Linked DNA regions of Homo sapiens: region 1 is linked to region 2. The links are contacts of gene promoters, found by promoter capture Hi-C in blood cells and fetal thymus (Javierre and others, 2016). All regions are on one chromosome and are shown on one strand. The core of a region is centred on a gene start or on the middle of the fragment in contact, and the rest is flanking DNA. Distances in the headings are between cores, read along the strand shown.

What was found. The method cuts DNA at HindIII sites, captures the fragments that hold promoters and counts their contacts. A CHiCAGO score of 5 or more calls a contact.
Region 1: a contact is called between a fragment that was not itself captured here and the fragment with the promoter of TSPAN1 in region 2, in 2 of 17 cell types (erythroblasts and M1 macrophages). The highest score is 5.4, in erythroblasts.

What each region holds. Positions count from the first base shown.
Region 1 is chr1:45,915,046-45,918,762 of GRCh38, reverse strand. All of the region lies in intron 4 of MAST2 (microtubule associated serine/threonine kinase 2), which reads right to left. Among named protein-coding and RNA genes, the nearest start is that of MAST2, 110 kb to the right of the region's middle. The HindIII fragment of the contact is 5,716 bases long and covers 1-3,717 here.
Region 2 is chr1:46,173,146-46,177,161 of GRCh38, reverse strand. It overlaps TSPAN1 (tetraspanin 1), which reads right to left and starts at 2,075. Exons shown (of 9, transcript NM_005727.4): 1 at 1,753-2,075. It overlaps P3R3URF-PIK3R3 (P3R3URF-PIK3R3 readthrough), which reads left to right and starts at 674. Exons shown (of 10, transcript NM_001303427.2): 1 at 674-934. The coding sequence starts at 691. P3R3URF (PIK3R3 upstream open reading frame) reads left to right here and starts at 674. Exons shown (of 2, transcript NM_001328655.2): 1 at 674-934; 2 at 1,533-1,676. The coding sequence starts at 691. The coding sequence ends at 1,576. It also overlaps a transcript of PIK3R3 not described here. The HindIII fragment of the contact is 4,826 bases long and covers 1,604-4,016 here.

The sequences.
Region 1 (3,717 bases), core at 929-3,428, 260 kb after region 2:
CACCCAGCATAAAAACAAAAGTCCTGGCCAGTAGTGGTGGCTCATGCCTGTAATCCCAGTGCTTTGGGAGGCCGAGGCGGGTGGATAACCTGAGGTCAGGAGTCTGAGATCAGCCTGGTCAATATGGTGAAACCCTGTCTCTACCAAAAATACAAACATTAGCTGGGTGTGGGGGCAGCCGCCTGTAATCCCAGCTACTCGGGAGGCTGAGGCAGAAGAATCACTTAAACCTGGGAGGCAGAGTTGCAGTGAGGAGAGATTGTGCCATTGCACTCCAGCCTGGGTGACAAGAGCGAAACTCTATCTCAAAAAGCCTCAAAATTGTTTAATCTGGCTGCCCACTACACTTCAGGCCTCATTTCCCAATACTCACCACCTAACTTATTCTGTACCAGTATCACTGGACTCTGTTGCACAAAGAATACATGGAGCAAGCTCCTAGATCAGGCCCCTGGCACTTCATGTTGCCTCCACCTGGAACACTCTTCTTCCAGATATCTCCATTCAGGCTCTATGACTTCCTTCAGGTCTTTTATGTCAACTTACCACTGAGGACCTACCTGACCACCTTATATAAAATGTCAAGCCCTGGCCTCTACATTCTCTTATCCTACTTTATTTTTCTCAGAAGCACTGTCTATCCGTTATGTTACATATTTACTCATTAACTTGTCTCTCTTTCTCCACTAGAATCTAAGCTCCCTGAGGACAGGGATTTTATTGCTTTATGTTCACTGCTTTGTTTCCCATGCCCAAAACAGTGTCCTAGCAGATAGTACGTAATCAAATAATGTTGAATATAAGAAAAGGAAGACAGAAAGAAATGGGAGAAGGGCTATTTTCCTCAACCTGAACAAACCATTTAACTTGTTTTGGACTCAAATTTTCCCATCGTGTAAAATGTGAGGTTTGAACTTTTTTACCTCCTAAGAGTTCTAGCACTCTGCCATGCTATGGGGTGGTCACAGGTCATAGTTCACAAGGCTGTCCAATGGTCAGGATGGGCACACAACTTATAATAGCCTCAAAAATCCAAGTACTGATAACCTACCCTCCTTTCTCCTGACATTTTGAATACAACAGAAATCTGTGATATTTATTTTACTCTTCTCTGTGACAGAACCAAGACTCTTACTCCATTTCTCCCCATTATTAAGGAGTAAGGTATGCGTTTTACCATTTGGCCAGAAGCAATTGTCAAGGCCCAGATTCACAGCAAGTTTCCTTACCTCCACGGCAGTGGGCGGCTGGAACAAGGAGTGCCAGGACTGCTGTGGGCTCGTGGGTTCAGGAAAATGGCAAGAGGAGAAGTAGCCAAAGCACAATCAGCACTAAATGGGACTTTAGTGAGGAAGAGGGCTGGAGCAGATGTGGGTGAAAACATGTGCTGGTTTACTTCAGCTCCTCGGCAAAGGGTAGAGATTCTGACAAGGTACCACAATAGGAAAAAAACAAGGTCAGTGATAACTTTTCAACCAAAAAGAAACATATTCAAAGTGGCTTGGTTTAGGCAAAAAGCTCAAGAAAAGTAAGTGGTCAAAAATCATTCTCCAATATCATACTTCAGTACCAATGTTGGTACAGGATGACAACAGAGACAAAAACTTAATCCATAAAATTAAAATACAACATTTAAGATTTGGCTATTCAACATATTTGTTATTTATTTTTATTTTTATTTTTTGAGACAGAGTTTTGCTCTTGTTGCCCAGGCTAGAGTGCAATGGCACGATCTTGGCTCACTGCAACCTCTGCCTCCTGGGTTCAAGCGATTCTCCTGCCTCAGCCTCCCAAGTAGCTGGGATTACAGGCATGCACCACCACACCCAGCTAATTTTGTATTTTTAGTACAAACAGGGTTTCATCATGTTGGTCAGTCTGGTCTCGAACTCCTGACCTCGAGTGATCCACCCGCCTCGGCCTCCTAAAAGTGCTGGGATTACAGATGTAAGCCACCGTGCCCAGCCTGAAGTATTTAGAATTGGTTTCTGGGCAAACCAAACACTGCAAATTTACTACATCAATTAGCAGGCAACAGTTAATATTTAATATTCAATGACTAAAACTTCCTAAAGAAATGTATATGTCCCTAAGAGTAAAACATTCTGAATAGTTTATAAATTATTGATTATATCAACAATAATACCAATTTGTTTAGCTAACATTTCTCTAATGAATGTATCATATAATGTCAGTTAACTATGTATTTTGCTTCTACTTAAATTTTAGATTCCCAGGTTATTTTTTCCCATAAAAACAATCTAGCCATTTTGATATGTTAAGTCCTATCGAAGATTATTAAATAAATAAGATCATTAGATTGAAAACAGGTAATAAATAGATTTCTAATTTGCTACCATTAGTAGAAACGACACATGATAAAAATAATATTCATAATATTTAATTTGCTACCTTATTGGCATGGCTTTCTATACACACACCATTATTTAATTTCCAAGGTAAAAAAATTACTTAAGTATCACATAAGTACCTGATCTAATTCAAAATGATAACATTGTTAGTTTCTCGTATTGTTATTTCTGACTGTTTATAATATGGATACAGTGACATTCTACTTGTGCTTGCTTACATATATTCAAAGGAAATCTTCACTTTCCTAGTCATTATCACTCTAGTGGTCTTCAGTTTACTTCTCAGGTGGGTACACAATATGGGGTAGTAACAGGATAGAAAATAGGAGGGCACACAACTATTTAAAATTACAGTTATGCCCACATTTCCACAAACTCAACATTTTTTTAAAGTTAAAAGAAGTAAAAATGTTAATTTTAAGTTAATTTCTCATTTTCAAAAAGAATTTTCACTCTTCCAAAGAACTATTTCAAAGTTAAGCTCCTTCATATATATGTTAGAACTAATTAGAACATTAGACAGCACTTACTTGTTAACCTGAATAATATGCTTGTACAAAATTTTGAAGCCTTAAGTCTTATCACATAAAATGAGGTTTAGACATTTTGTTCAATATATAATTGAAATTATAAAAATCTATGAAAGCCAAACTTCATTTTCTTTCCTTTTTTTTTTTTTTTGAGACAGAGTCTCACTCTGTCACCCAGGCTGGAGTACAGTGGCGCCATCTCGGCTCACTGCAAGTTCCGCCTCCCAGGTTCACGCCATTCTCCTGCCTCAGCCTCCCGAGTAGCTGGGATTACAGGCGCCCGCCACCACGTCCGGCTAATTTTTTGTATTTTCAGTAGAGACAGAGTTTCACCGTGTTAGCCAGGATGGTCTCGATCTCCTGACCTCGTGATCCGCCCGCCTCGGCCTCCCAAAGTGCTGGGATTACTGGCGTAAGCCACCGCGCCTGGCCGGCAAATTTCATTTTCTTTTTGCCCCTAATTACTACTCTGCAAACTGGTTATACAATGGGTCTAGAGTCTAAAAAGGATTGTTTGAAACAGGAAAAGGTGATATACAAACTACTTATTAGCTCCTCAGGGGGTATTTTTCTAACTCAAAGTCAGTAAAACAGAGAAAATGATTACCAACAGCAGTGTACCCACATTTGAAGAGCATGATTTGCCAGGTATGGTAATCTCAGCACTCTAAGAGGCTGAGGCAAGAGGATCACTTGAGCTCAGGAGTTCCAGACCAGCCTGAGCAACATAGAGAGACCTTATTTCTACAAAAAAATTAAAAAATTAGCCAGGCTTGGTGGTGCATGCCTGTGGTCCCAGCTGCTGAGGTGGAAGG
Region 2 (4,016 bases), core at 826-3,325:
GGTTTTGCCATGTTAACCAGGCTAGTCTTGAACTCCTGACCTCAGGTGATCTGCCCACCTCGGCCTCCCAAAGTGCTGGGATTACAGGCTTGAGCCACCATGCCTGGCCAACAATATATATTAAATAAGGTGTCTCCACACATAAAATCAGGTTATATGTATAGATCAGTTGACAAAAATATTGTGACCAGAGGGTTTCAGGAACCTAACCTTGCATTTACCCTTTGTTCAGTATTTAGTGTTTGTGGCGACTTTATAGAACATTACTGGGAATAATGAGAATTGACTGTATATAAATAGGTATAATGATGGCATATCCTTGTAAAGTAGCTGAGATTAAATGAGATAACGTTGGTAAAGTGCTCAGCACAGTGTCTGGCACGTAGTAAGTGCTCAAAAAACATTGTTAATATTGTTACTATATGGATAAGTGAGAAAGTGAGGAAGTGAGTTCCGCCTCTAGGGCCTCTTTTCCCAAGGGGCCAAACTGAGGCTGTCTGGCTCTTGGGCTGGCTTTTAGGCCAGACCCAATAAAGAAGATTGTGAAGGAGCCTGACCCATGAGGAGGGGCCAGGGCCCACGACTTGTAATAAAGGGCCCTGCCCTTATGCAGACTTTGTATGTCATAGAGGCCTCAGCTACCCTGGCCAACAGCACCCCCCAGGCACACTGCAGAAGCTCCCTGTGCCCATGGGGCCATCTCGGCTTGTCCGTGGCCCTCGGCCCCAGGGCATGCGTTCCCCCTACCGCAGGCCAGGTATGGGCTGGCCCAGGCCCCGATTTCCCAGGATGTTCAAGTGTAGCCGCAGAAGATATCAACAGGGTCTCCGAGGTCGAACTGCCAGCAGTGCAGCCATCAATCCTGCCACCAGGGCCATGGGTATCAACAACACCCACACTGACACCACCATAGTGTGGATCTTCCCACCTCAAGGTTAGCCAGGGGGCCTGTGAGCCAGGGTGGGGTTTTAAAAAACAGAGCCACTAGGCTGGGTGCGGTGGCTCATGCCTGTAATCCCGGCACTTTGGGAGGCCAAGGCGGGCAGATCACAAGGTCAGGAGATCGAGACCATCCTGGCTAACACGGTGAAATCCCATCTCTACTAAAAATACAAAAAAAAATTAGCCGGGCGTGGTGGCACACGCCTTTAGTCCCAGCTACTTGGGAGGCTGAGGCAGGAGAATTGCTTGAACCCGGGAGGCAGAGGTTGCAGTGAGCCAAGATCGCGCCACTGCACTCCAGCCTGGGTGACAGAGCTAGACTCTGTCTCAAGAAAAAAAAAAAAAAACCAGAGCCAGTGAAGATTTCCCTACCTGGTTCTGTTTAGGCACGCCAAAGGATGATCTCTGTGAAATAGCACCCCTACATATATGGGGGACTCCTGATGGCAGGCACCCCAAAGTGCTGACAGCCTTAATGGAGGATGGATTGGCTGGAAGCAGAGGGTTTGGGGAGGGGCTGAATCCAAGAGGCAGGGAACTTCCAGAACTGCTTCCTTCCTCAAACTCTTCCCTCTCCTTCCTCTCCTCAGTTCTCAGACATCTCAGGCAACCTGGGATTTTTCTGATCCTCTAGAAGTGCCCAGAAGCTAGCCCAGAAGCTTGGTTTGCCCTGGACCTGCATCTCCTAGGGGCCGTGTGGGTGGTGAACAACAAATACAGTCATTCTGCTCAAACTGCCTTATTCCACACAGAGGTGTTAACCAGCTGACTATGCAGGGCGTGAGGGGAGGGTTATGGCTGAATACTTACAGGGAAAGGCTTCAGTGACCGCAGCAGGGATCATAGTTTAAGACAGCAGGAGGACAGGACAAGGTCAGCAACATAGACCATCTTTGGTCTCAGCTCTTGATCTGCCCCATGAAGTAGGGGCTCTCTTGCCTTACACTCCTAACTGCACAGGGAGAAGGGTCTCTGTAAACATCTTGGAAGGTATTGGGAGGCACAGATCAGAGAGGGATAGGATGAAAGACTGAACCCTGAGAGTACACAAGTATGAGGTGGATGTGAGGTGGATGTGCCTCTGTGTGCCTGTGATGGTCAGCGTGTAGGTGTAGCTGCTGGTGTGTGTGTCTGAGGCCGGGAGAATAGGAGTATCAGTAGATGTGGCTGAATGTGCCTTTGTGATTTAATGTGCCTCTGTGACTGACTGTGAGTGTCAAGGAGCGTTTGTGAGGGTATGGGTGTGCCGGAGAGGACATCAGCCCTGGTAAGAAAAGTGAAGGTCAGGAGGGGGATGGGGAACAGCCTAAAGGAGGAGAACATGGAGAAGGGTGAGATTCTGAGAAAGGCATACTACCTTCGGCCCTTCAACCATTCTCTGAGGTCAGTGTTTTCCAGAACTGGCAGCTGAGCTGGGGTGCTTAGGGGTGGGGCAAGACTGAGTTTGAGCCCAGAAAGTAGGGAGGGTGCTAAGCTCTCTGGCCTGGGGATTTTCCATTTGGATTTCTGAGTGTGTGCTCATGTGTCACTGGCTGTAACCGGGTTTCTGTGGGGTTGTGTCTTAGTCGCTGGGAACATTTTGTAGGACTCTGTCTCGAATATGTTGCATCATGCATGGGCTAATACGTGTTGCACCGGTCCGAGATCTGGCTGCATTTCCAGGCTACCTTCCCAAGGGGCTAGGGAAGGGAGTGAACCCTGAGACCTTTGGTGGCCTGGCCCCCTGGGGTTCAGGAAGTGTGGCTAATGTCCTTTGCTGCCTGTGAAGGGAAAGTGAATTGTGCTTATGTCTATCTACCCCAACTCTTGCCAGAGACTGGGACCCTGAGGGGGGTTGAGGCAGAGAATTCACTGACACACCATGCCCAGACGGTGCTGGGCTCCTCAGGTTATGGGATGGGGGTTGCTGAACATCAGTCAAAGCTAGAAGGTGCTTGGGCCATGCTCAAGGGCCCAAGAGGGGCCATACATATAAAGATACATGACACAGTTCACAAACACATGCAGACATGTAAATATAAGTGAACTCATAGACACATACTGCAACAACCACACACATGCATGCAAGCACATACTATAAGCAGATATACGCAGACACAAATGCATAGATCCCCACACGATATATGTAACAACACATACGCATGCCTCTAAATGAACACAGACAGAAACATGCATGCACCCAGACACAAGCACACAAGCACCCAGATGCAGACACATGCCTTCACACTCATGCAAACCCAGGCACACACAGACATACACGCATGCAGACACACTCACCAGACTTCCCTGCCCCTGCGGCCCTGGGACCCAGAAGCCTCCCTCCCCTATATGAGTGTGTAGTATGTGTGTGTGCATGCACTCATGCCCACACTTGTGTCTGTGTGTATCTGTGTCTGTGAGAGTGTGTGTTTGTGCTCGAGTGTGTGTATGATGGGGGTGCTAAGCTGTGGGAACCAGATGACATCATCTCTTCCAGCTATTTTTAGCTGTATCTGCGATGATGGCTTCTTCACTGCCCCTCCCCCTTCAGGTTCCTAATTCTCCTCCCCATCTAGGCTCCCAGAGGCAGCAGCAGCCAGAGGGCACCCACCACCTCAGTTTAGGTGGCTCCCGGATGAGCGGGTGCAGCCCACTCTCTCCCACCCTGCCAGAGTTCCCTGGTGGCTGAGAACACCAGGCTCTCAGGCTGGAAGGGCCTGGGTTAGCTGAGCTGACCTAGATGGTCTCCACCCCTTAAGGTGCCTCTGCTTCTGCTTTTCAATCTGCAACTCTGTGTCAGTCAACAGTGCCTGCTATGTGCCAGGGATGGTACTAAATTCTGGAGATACAGCAGTGAGCAAGGCAGTGGGAGTTCTTTCCCAGAGGAATTATAGCTCAGTGAGAGGCACATTACACAGATTACACAAGCTCTTCATTAAATCGTGAGGAGGTCTCTGAGTACTTGTAACAGGGGCTCCGTTTGCGATGATGTTCTCTGCCTCTCTCTGTTCTTCCTTCTCCCATAGGTGAGATAACCTGAGGAAATCAGAGGGAATACAGCCCTTACCTTGCACCCTTCATCCTAACAACCATAT